Regions from separate parts of the Homo sapiens genome. Here all the other regions are linked to region 2. Evidence: promoter capture Hi-C in human tissues and cell types (Jung and others, 2019). All regions are on one chromosome and are shown on one strand. The core of a region is centred on a gene start or on the middle of the fragment in contact, and the rest is flanking DNA. Distances in the headings are between cores, read along the strand shown. Region 1 overlaps TTC6 (tetratricopeptide repeat domain 6). Region 2 holds the start of FOXA1 (forkhead box A1). Region 3 overlaps TTC6 (tetratricopeptide repeat domain 6). Region 4 overlaps TTC6 (tetratricopeptide repeat domain 6).

Region 1 (2,700 bases), core at 201-2,700, 200 kb before region 2:
AGAGTCTTTACCTCAGGCTATGTTCTATTGGCCACGAGTGACAGTGAGAAACAGTCATATTCAAGGGTTTGGTGGCTTGGGGTTAAAATCCTCTCCACGTACATATTAACACAGCTTTTCTGTATCAAATAAATGTTATTTATCTCTCTTAAAATCAACTGATTTTCAGTAGAGAAATAACCTTAGAAATTATCATGTTTGATGCCTCTATTTCAAAATGAAAACCACCCATCCAATAATCCAACCTCACAGAATCCCTGACCCCTTGCCTAGACACCAAAGTTCCTACTTCCTGTTTTCTGTCTCTTTGAAACTGACACTCTTTTCTTTTTCTTTCTGGCTCAAAAATGTCCAAAAGAAAACCACTGTGGTCATTATGGGAGCCATGCTCCATGAATTTCCTGTGTCAAGTTCAAAGTTTACCTTGGATAGATTAAGTAAACAGTCTGCTGGTTGGCAAGGAATTGGCATGATTAGTTACTCTTTCTGACACCTTCCCTTTTCATAAATCCTTCTTTGGAAAAAAAGGGGAATTTTTAATTAAATTCTGTGATTTACAGTTTGACTTTCTGACTAGTGCATTTAACTTTCAGTCTATATTTCTCCCTGAACATATGGTCTACATGGTATTAGTGTTTTTATTTTGCTTTACTAAACAAAATGAAGCCAGAAGTTCTAAATAGAAGGCTGCCTTCCATTGAGTTGTATCCTGTCCATAGCAATCATACACCAAGCAGAATGTTTTTTCATTATTTTAAAACTTAATGACAGTTTTCCATGAAGTTAATTTCAAAAAGCTCTAGCCTGGGCATCTCCAAAATCCTCAATAGTATTGATTCCTTATCCATAGATTTAACTCCTGTCAAACCCATTTAACTTCTAAAATTTGCAAAAACACCCAAGGCAAACAGATGTTGAGAACAGGTTTTATTTTTGAAGTAATCTTGTTTTTAGAAGTAGTATTCTAATTCTAGGATGACTTTATAAGTGTCTCATTTTTTCTAGGTTATCAATGATGAGGGGAAAGAAACTTTTTCTCCCATTTCAGGTTTTCGATTTTTTACAAAACTGAAATCAATAAATATGAAAAGGAAAACATACCTTTCTAGAGAAATGACAGTTTCAAAGTCACAAATTGCCAGCAGCCAAAGTTTTAGATGTGCATAGACTATTCCCCGATGTAGAAAACAACCAAGATTCTCATAGCCATCATTTATGAGTGCTTAAAAAGTTTAAAAAAATGTATTTCATTCAGGTTCTAAAATAACCATAGGTAAATTATACTTTAGTCTGTAAACTTCCTATTGCTTATTCTCATTTTTTAACATTATATAAAATAGAAACATATCTATGATGAGTGTACTTGTTTGGTAAGTTAAATAATAGTATTGTACATTAAAATGTATTTATTAGTAACAATGTGGCAATTGTGGTTCACAAACTCATTAGAGCTGAATTAAATCCTGATTGGAATCTAGCATAGTCCACTCACCGTATAGGTGAGGAGATTAAAGTCCAAAGGGGGTAAGTACATTGACCATGGTCATGATATACCAGTCAATGGCAAAGACTGGCCTAGAATCCAACTCCAGTCAGAAGGGTGCCATGACCCTTGATGGCCTGATTTTATCAGGAAGCCATCGTTACTGGCCAAGGAACAGGCTTGAGTACTAGTCCTGAAGGCAGAAAGCAGAGGTCAGGCTCACACACAAACCGGGATGGACAAGCAAAGAGGCTACACCAAGGCAAACAGAGCTTGGAGGTAAGGCGGACGGCTTGACTATGCACATCCCAAATGACAGCTATCCGAGATGCGAGATGCACATCCCTAATAATGGAAGGGAGAAAAAGAACCTCCTCTCAGTAATCCAGGTGTGTGACTCTCATCAGTAACCTGTCTAGAGGTCATCTCATGTCTCTCGCCTACTGATTGCCCCTTCACTTTCAAAACATGTTAGTGAATTAGATGGGGTTTCCACAAGTTTTGACAGATATCTTTAAAGCTTCTCATGACATTCTGCCTTAAGGTGCAAAGTTTTGTCAAAATATGCATAATGTTTGCAGTCTAGGACAAAAATATTCACGGTACTGGATTTAGGGAACTATAGCCAGTGTCAGCAATGATCATACACATTAAGGAAGTACAGTCATGCACCACTTAACAGTAGGGATATGTTCTGAGAAATGCATTATTAGGGGATTTCTTTATTGTGCAAAGATCATAGAGTGTACTTTCACAAACCTAGATGGTATATATTTTTATATATATACATATATACAGAATATAGAATATATTATAGAATATACATAGAGTATATACAATATATATATATATATATATAAGAGGAAACCAAATGTCCCAACACCATTAATGAATATCAATCGTTTCCCCTACTTGATCCACAATGCGAATGTCAAGTGCCATATATCAGGTTTAACCATAGTATATACAGTCCGTTTTTGACCGAAACATCATTATGTGGCGCATGACTGTTATCACTTGAAGAAAATCTAACTGCTCAGTTCACAGTATGATTGGCTAGCAATTAAAAAATCAGCTGCAGTTTGGGTGGCTGCTCTTAACAAACAATAAAAAAACTCTTCTTAAGGAAAAAGGAAAAAAAATATTATTTAACCTCTCTGTGCTATGGCTTTCTCATCAGTAAAATGTGAATGAAAATAGTACCGAGCTCCTAGCAT
Region 2 (2,718 bases), core at 84-2,583:
TCACCAACTAATTGCCTATCACCCGGTCACTTCAGTTGTTCTCTCTCCCAGGACAAGTGGGCAACCACCACCCAGGGCCTCATGAGAGTAAAGAGACTTTGCGTTGGGAAGACTCTCCCACCGACGTCCAGGACCGATTAGGAACCAAGCGAGCCCCTGAGATCTCAGCCCGGACCCTCCGGGTCACAGACAGGACCAAGCGCCGCTGCGGGCAGTCTCGGGCTTCTGCCTGGCATCTCTTTCGCAGTGCAGATGCGTTCCCGCGCCCAGGCCCTTGCTCTCCCAGCTAACGCGCGTGTTATGGGAGATGTCCCCTCCCCCTGACCTTTTCCTATCAGAAACCAGACGGTCGTCTCCAGCTCACTCCCTGAAGCGGCTGAAGGGGGGCGGGAGGAGGAGCCCGGCAGGGGGAGGACGGCCCGACTTGGGTCCGCCTGCCCTATCACACAGACATCTGCTCTCAGTTTCTTCCTCTTTGTGGTCGCTACAGATGACAAGGGGAGAGGAGCGGACCGAGGCGGAACAAAAAAAAAAAGTTATGTCATAAAGATATAAACCGGTGCTGTGACTCACCTGCTCTTAGCCGCAGGTACGAGTTTCGTGGCAGCGCCTCCGCTCTGCTAGCCCGGGGCCCGGGTCGGCCTAACGTCACTTGGCTCGGCTGACTCAGATGACCCGGTTTCTAGTGACGAAGCAAAAGTGGGGCTTTTTCCCTTTTCTAGTCTGAAGCTCTCAGGAGGAAAGAAAAAAAAAAGTCTGTATTCTCCAGTCTCCCGGGGTTGAACTTTGGGTCAGGAATCAGGAGGGAGGAAGCAAAGAGCAGGAGGGGCGCGAGACTGGGCCGCAGCCCGCGCTCGGAAGGTGGCGTGTACCTCTGGGGAGGGACCCCGGGGTCAGTTATCCCACAAGGTCTCTAAGCCCAGTCTCCGACGCCACCGCCCCCGGCCTTCTCCGGCTGCGAGGTTCCGATCCAGAGCCCTAGCCCGCCCGCCCGCCTGGCCCCGCCTATTTTTTCTTTTTCCAAAGGGGGTTACACCCCCTCCCTCCCCATTTCCCTCTTTCCCTAGCCTCCGGGCCTAAACCAATTACACTGCTTTGCAAACAAAGTGAGGGCCCCGCTTGGGGGAGGGGTCGCGGGGGAGGGGTCGCGCGCAGCGGTGAAGCGGCGGGGCGGGAGGCGCGGCGGCCGGACTGGCGGGCGGCCGCCTTGCAGGTGCACCTCGGGCTTTGTAGGTGCGAGCGTCTTTGTGCGGCGGACAAATGGGGAGAGGACGAGGAGGTGGGCACTCAAGCGACGTAAGATCCACATCAGCTCAACTGCACTTGCCTCGCAGAGGCAGCCCGCTCACTTCCCGCGGAGGCGCTCCCCGGCGCCGCGCTCCGCGGCAGCCGCCTGCCCCCGGCGCTGCCCCCGCCCGCCGCGCCGCCGCCGCCGCCGCGCACGCCGCGCCCCGCAGCTCTGGGCTTCCTCTTCGCCCGGGTGGCGTTGGGCCCGCGCGGGCGCTCGGGTGACTGCAGCTGCTCAGCTCCCCTCCCCCGCCCCGCGCCGCGCGGCCGCCCGTCGCTTCGCACAGGGCTGGATGGTTGTATTGGGCAGGGTGGCTCCAGGATGTTAGGAACTGTGAAGATGGAAGGGCATGAAACCAGCGACTGGAACAGCTACTACGCAGACACGCAGGAGGTGAGAGGCAAGGCGAGGCGGGCGGCCGGTGGGGCGCCGCTGGAGCCCGTGCCGGGGGAGGCCGGGGAGCGGTGGGCGCCAGGCAAGGCAGGCAGGCGGGCCGGGGGCGCCTTCTCGGTGCCACCGCTGCCCGCCCGCCGGTGTGGCCCCGGCCGGGCCTTGGCCGGGCCTGGAAGCGGGACCTGCTGCCCTGCTCTGTCCCGACTCTCGCAGCCGGAGAGGGAGTTTTAGGAAACTCCGGGCTTTGAAAACAGCGGCTCTAGGAAGCGCTTGCCTCTTCCCAGCAGCGAGCGGGAGCAGGAGCCGGGCCCGGGGTGCAGCGGGCGGGCGAGCGCCGGTGCGAGTTGGAAGCAACTCTGAGAAAGCCGGAGCATACCCACAAGGCGACCTCTTCGTCCCACCGTTTAATTCGCAGACGTCTTCTGATTAAAGCGCTCTGCCGCCAAGTTGGGTGTCTCAATAATGAAACGATTTCTAAATTTTGTAAAACTTGTTCTTCAAAAGCCCTATTTGGGGAGAAGTGTGCTCCTTCTCTAAAACCGCTGGGTGGCGCTAGTGCGACCAAAATCTTCTTCACAACTCTGGGCCGAGAACCTGTTTCTCTTCATTGTCCCCTTGGTGGCACGTTCATGGGGGTTATTTTTACAATGTGCACAAAAGGATTACAGGGAAAACCAGTTACAGGGAGGACTACCACCTATTAAAAGTATTTTTCTGGAAACAGCTGGCGATTACCCTCCAAAAGTTTAATTACCATTATTGAAAACGCGTATTGGAACTGCCTTGGATAATCTTGGGAAGAGGGAAAGAAAATAAAGCCCCAAGGTAAAAAATACTTTTAAGACGTGGACAGAAAAATATAGGATCACGTAATATTTTGATGGTAACTGACTTATTTAGATTTATGTATTCACAAGTTTACCTCTGAGTTTATTTGCATACCATAGTTTACTGGGTGTTCCTATTTAAATCTATTTGTTCTCATATTTTCAAATTGAGTCATACTTGCTGATTAAAATAAACTTAAGGACATCATT
Region 3 (2,700 bases), core at 55-2,554, 230 kb before region 2:
GAATAAAATCCTATTATTTGCAGCAACATGGGTGAGCATAGAGGACATTATGTTAAGTGAAATAAGCCAGGTACAGAAAGACAACACATGTTCTTGCTCATATTTGGAGGCTTAAAAAAAACAACTTTGTCTCATAAACAGAGAGAGTAGAATGATGGTTACAATTGGCTGGGAGGGGTGGGCGAGGGGATGAAGACAGGTTGGCTAATGGGAACAAAAATACAGTTATATGGAAGAAATAAGTTCTAGTATTTGATAGCACAGCAGAGTGACTATAGTTATAACTTATTGTATATTTCAAAATGGCTAGACGATTTGAAATATTCTCATCATAAAGAAACGATAAATGTTTGAGGTGATGCATATTCCAATTACTTTGATTTCATCATTACACATTGTATGCACATATCAAAATATCATGTGCCCCATAAATATGTACAATTAGTATGTATCAATAAAAAATATAACATTTTGAAATAAAATGATTTTGAAAAAAATTCATTTAAAAAAATCTATTTTAGAAAAAAATTTTTAAGGAAGCAATTGCCATCAAGAAAAAATGAATCAGAAATACAGGAACCCAGAAAAGAGGTGACCAGGAAAAAATGGCATGGAAATAGGATAGAACTAGAAAAATAAAATAAAAAGGAAATCTAACTTATGAGGTCCACAGGGATAACAGGTATCTCAGGAAACAGTATAAAGATTTAGGAAAAATACAAAAGAAAGACAAAGAAAATGAAACAGACATTAAGAAATAAAAAAATTAAGAATAAATCAAAATTAAGGAATATACAACATCTATATAATTGGTATCCCCAGTGAAGAAAATCAGAACAATGAAACAGAAAAAAAAATGTTAACTGAATTCAACAACACTTATCTGAAATCTATGTACTGAAAACATATACTGTGTACTTGATAAATTTAACCTGCAGTGGTCAACTCTAAGGAATACCTTGGTAAAACTTTTCCCTTAAAAAAAAATGTGGTTATCTTGACAAAAAAGAGCAAGTTGCTTTTAAGAAAAAGAAAATCCGTTTTGCATCATGCTTCTTGACACCAACATATACCACCAGAAAAGAAAGCAGCACTTACAAGACACTCAAGGAAAGAAAAATGAGTCAAGGAGCCATGCTGTCTTAAGGTATAAAATAGGCTACAGGCAAACAGCTATCAACATGCAAAACTCCAAGGAATATTGTTCTCAGGAGCCCCTCCTTAGAACTCTACCAGAGGACTAATTTCAGACAACCAAGAAATTATTGTGGGGAAGGGGAGTTTGGCAAATAGTCTGGTGATGAGAACTGAATATATTTAACTGAAGAACTAAGACTAAAATGTGCAATAAGGGTAACAAAATAATACATAAATATTAAATCTTGGTCAGGCAGTGTAGAAATAATAAAACTTACAACAAAATGGGAGAATTAATTTATGTGTTGCCCAAGTGAACCCACAGTAACTATTCTTTTGGATTTCCCCAAGTGTCAGCACTTGCCTTGCAATATCTATTGTCACCAGCTTCTAGCCTGGAATCCTCTGTTCTTTCCCCTACTTAGACTTCCTTCAAGACCATCCCTATGATGTGATTATCTAACTCACCTTAATTCATACCAATTTTTATACCCAAGAGACTGTGGAAACCAAGTTTATGTGACAAGCTGACATAATAAGCTCAAGCATATTTAAGAATATGAGGATAAACTTTTTTTAAAAAATTACTAAAATTGAATAATGAATGAGAGAGAGGAGGAGTTTACAGGGTAATTTTATTGTTGTTCATAGTAGAGAAACTAAACTAAGAGTATTAATGTTATTTTTATAAAGATAATCACTACAACAAAACTATAAACCTTCCTAAATATTACAAAAACTGAAAAAAAGCCAAAAAATAAAAAACCAGGGAGTTAAATACTTTCAAAATACCTTTAACATAAACACACTTGCATTACATAAAATAACAGAACTAAGATCAAATGTATTGATCATGCCAAAATTAAATGGGCTTAACTTGCCTATTAAAAGAAAAATATTTTCAAATTAGCTCTCAAAGTAAAATCCGATTCTATACAGTATAAAAGAGACATACCAAAAACAAAGGATTTTAAAAGTTGAAAATAAAAGGAAAAGCAAAGGAATACCAGGCAAAGCAAATCAGAAGGTCTCAGAGGTCATGATCCTCATATCACACAAAGGAGAATTTGTTCCACAGAGTATTAAAAGAAACAAAGGAGGAAATCTGTAGTGCTGAAGGCTATAATTCATAATGCATATATATTAGGTATAAATATCTATACATGAAATAATGTAGCAGCAATTTTCACAAAGCAGGCATTACAAGAGATGCAAAGAGAAATATATAGGAACCCTCAAATAACAGGATACTTGAATAAATCTCTCAGTCCAAGATAAACCAAGTGAAAAAAAAGTATGAATGTAAACTAATTAATAACATAGACTTCCTAAATGTAGACTTAAATCCACATCCTGATAGTAGATACCCTTTCTTAGGAATGACCCTGACATATTCAAAACAATGTTTTTATATTAGACTTCATTAAAACTCAATAAATTCCAGAATGTAGAAAATATAAATGTCCTTCCATCTGGTTAAATGCTCTGTTAATTTATTCTTTAGTCAAATGGGAAATAGAAATTACAGGTGGAAAATCTGGGGAAAACATTAATAAAACCATT
Region 4 (2,700 bases), core at 151-2,650, 210 kb before region 2:
TTCCCTTCTAAAGCTTGTACATTTCTAAATTACTAAATGTTTTAAACAGATTTCACTGTCCACGTTTCACAGAATGGAGAGTGTGTGAACACAGAACAGCGGGAATGTGACCTAGCCTTTTAAAAGAATGCGTCATTTACTATGGACATGGGCAGGAATAAGGAGAGTGAGACAAGTAACAGAGAAAGAGGATGGGACACTACACTGAAAGACCGCAAGACTAGCTGCTCCCCAGTGAGGAATCCTCATTGAAAAGGGACCAAACCGACAGGAGAGAAGAGAGTAGGTAAGATTACAAAATATAAACAAGAGTTTGCACAGGTAGATGCTGGATCAAGACAAATGGAAAAAAAGGTTTGCTGCAGCCCACAGGCCTTCAAAATATAGGCCAAACCTGGTCACTGGTCCCTGGAGCTGAAAACCATCACTCCATCCTCCCTGCTACATGTGTGGTCTGAGGACCAAACAAAAGAATGCCTACACAAACTGCTCTAGCTAATATTAAAATTTTGAAACCACAATATTGCTAGTGATTGCTACTGCTTTAAAAATTCTGCACTTTGGGAGGCCGAGGCAGGCGGATCACGAGGTCAGGAGATTGAGACCATTCTGGCTAACATGGTGAAACCCTGTCTCTACTAAAAATACAAAAAATTAGCAGGGCATGATTGGGGGTGCCTGTAGTCCCAGCTACTTAGGAGGCTGAGGCGGGAGAATGGCGTGAACCCGGGAGGCGGAGGTTGCAGTGAGCCAAGATCACGCCACTGCGCTCCAGCCTGGGCAACAGAGTGAGTCTCCGTCTCAAAAAAAAAAAAAAAAAAAAAAATTCTGCATATGGTAGAAACATTTATTCAATTGATAATTATGTAATGTATTTAATTTATAAATGCCTTTAAATACTTCTATAAGCATTATCAACTTAATTTTTCATTTGACTTCTTTCAGAAATTATATAAGAAAATTTGGTGAGCACCAACAAAGAAATTAAATATTCTTTGAAATGGTTCTTTGGTTTCTTAAGTTTTATATGTGTGTATTTCCTAGGAATTCCTTTTGAAAATTGTAGCAGAAGTAATAAGAAAATACTTTATAAATGCCTTAAATGAGTTTACAAATGCTTTAACATATTGTTTATTAAATATTTATTGATTGAAATCCACAAGCTATTAAATGCATGTTATTTATTAAACACTTTAAACACATTGTTTACTAAAATGGTCATCTTACCATTTGAAGTTCCCTTATCTTGGTGTAACATAATGCTCTGTTATAAAATGCTGTATAACTATTTTTGTCCATGCTGATAGCTGTAGTTAAATCTGTAATTGCTAGCTTATAAGTCTAAAAAGAAAAAAGTAATTATGTGAGAAAGGAAAATCATAATGGACTGAAATTTAATCATAAAATAAATTCTTGTTTCTATCAGAGTTTTTGAAACACTCATTTAACCATTCTTTGTATCATCTGTGAAATTAAGACATTGAAGCTAATCTTTCACAGAGTTAATTAAGAAAATCTCCTGGTAGAAATTATCATTATAGTTTCTCTTACCTGCAAACAAAATTAAATATATCAACAACTTTAATTTAGGCAAATATCTTATTACCAATGTTGGTATATGGCAAGGAGAAAATCATACTTCTAGGTAAAATAAAATAAAGCCACCCATATTAATGCAGCAAACATTCACCAGTGCTTGCTTGCTTCTGTCACTCTGACTACCATATCACATAATCGTCATGTTTTCTACCCACGTTCTCTTTTGCTTCCTCTTTGATTCTTCTCTGATACCTTATATCACCCATTTCTGTAGATAGTAATTTTCATAGAATTAACACATAATGCAAGGTCTTACCTTTGCTTTAAGGTATTATTTGCAAAATATTTCATATAAAATAGCTACAAAGAAAGATCAGAAAAGAAAAGTAGAGAGAAATAAAGTATTCAGTGCAGTATCACATATCAATGGTGCCAGTCACACCTTTTAACCCAGTAACTTCTGTTTAAGAACCAATCATAAACCCAAGCAGCAATTTTGTTCTCAGTTGTATATAACTATATTAAATAGTATAATAGTAAAAATTTTAAAAACAATCAAAAAGTTCAACAATAAAGTAATTTAAAATAAATTGTCATGGAATATTATGCAGTCAGCAAAATATTATCTTCAAAGATTAAGTGTAAAAAGCAGGGCACCACACAAGTTATATAAATACCATAGTCCAAATTTTGGAAAATATATATCATATATTATGAGGAAAATAAAAGACTGAATACAAATATGCTAAATGCACCCAGGAATTATCATTGATGGTGAGATAATAATCCTTTATTCCCTTCCATATTTTTCCAAACTGTCTACAATGAATATATGCTACATTCTTAATAAAAATAAATAATAAATGTTATTTAAAATGTAAATGTCAAAAATAAATACCATTATTTTGTGAAAAAAATATGAATTGGGAAAGTGTAAAGTTTTCTATGTAGTTCTGCCCTTCATATCATAGTGATTCCCAACCACATAGAAAAAAAGTAAGTGAGTCCCCTGCCTAGCATAAGAGAATCTGCCCACCCTAAAATTTCGGTAAACCAGGCAGGAAATGGCCCTACCTTGTTGTAGTATTTCAGAACTCCTCTGTAGAGATAGGCACGTACGCTTTCAGGGTAAATTTTAATAGCCTTGTTACAATTCAAGAT

Evidence for each region. The method cuts DNA at HindIII sites, captures the fragments that hold promoters and counts their contacts. A contact is called where the count stands out against the background at its distance.
Region 1: a contact is called between a fragment that was not itself captured here and the fragment with the promoter of FOXA1 in region 2, in 1 of the 25 tissues and cell types used here (dorsolateral prefrontal cortex).
Region 3: a fragment that was not itself captured here is called in contact with the fragment with the promoter of FOXA1 in region 2 in 3 of the 25 tissues and cell types used here (H1 embryonic stem cells, dorsolateral prefrontal cortex and spleen).
Region 4: a contact is called between a fragment that was not itself captured here and the fragment with the promoter of FOXA1 in region 2, in 1 of the 25 tissues and cell types used here (dorsolateral prefrontal cortex).

What each region holds. Positions count from the first base shown.
Region 1 is chr14:37,789,239-37,791,938 of GRCh38, reverse strand. It overlaps TTC6 (tetratricopeptide repeat domain 6), which reads right to left. Exons shown (of 33, transcript NM_001310135.5): 18 at 1,102-1,222. Among named protein-coding and RNA genes, the nearest start is that of LINC00517, 110 kb to the left of the region's middle. The HindIII fragment of the contact is 5,054 bases long and covers 1-2,700 here.
Region 2 is chr14:37,593,864-37,596,581 of GRCh38, reverse strand. FOXA1 (forkhead box A1) reads left to right here and starts at 1,333. Exons shown (of 2, transcript NM_004496.5): 1 at 1,333-1,681. The coding sequence starts at 1,610. TTC6 (tetratricopeptide repeat domain 6) reads right to left here and starts at 953. Exons shown (of 33, transcript NM_001310135.5): 1 at 574-953. RefSeq lists enhancers at 1-1,024, 538-1,397. The HindIII fragment of the contact is 7,361 bases long and covers 1-2,678 here.
Region 3 is chr14:37,828,562-37,831,261 of GRCh38, reverse strand. The region is part of intron 31 of TTC6 (tetratricopeptide repeat domain 6); the gene reads right to left. Among named protein-coding and RNA genes, the nearest start is that of LINC00517, 72 kb to the left of the region's middle. The HindIII fragment of the contact is 4,635 bases long and covers 1-2,700 here.
Region 4 is chr14:37,807,374-37,810,073 of GRCh38, reverse strand. TTC6 (tetratricopeptide repeat domain 6) reads right to left here. Exons shown (of 33, transcript NM_001310135.5): 25 at 2,614-2,700; 26 at 1,228-1,341. Among named protein-coding and RNA genes, the nearest start is that of LINC00517, 93 kb to the left of the region's middle. The HindIII fragment of the contact is 6,001 bases long and covers 1-2,700 here.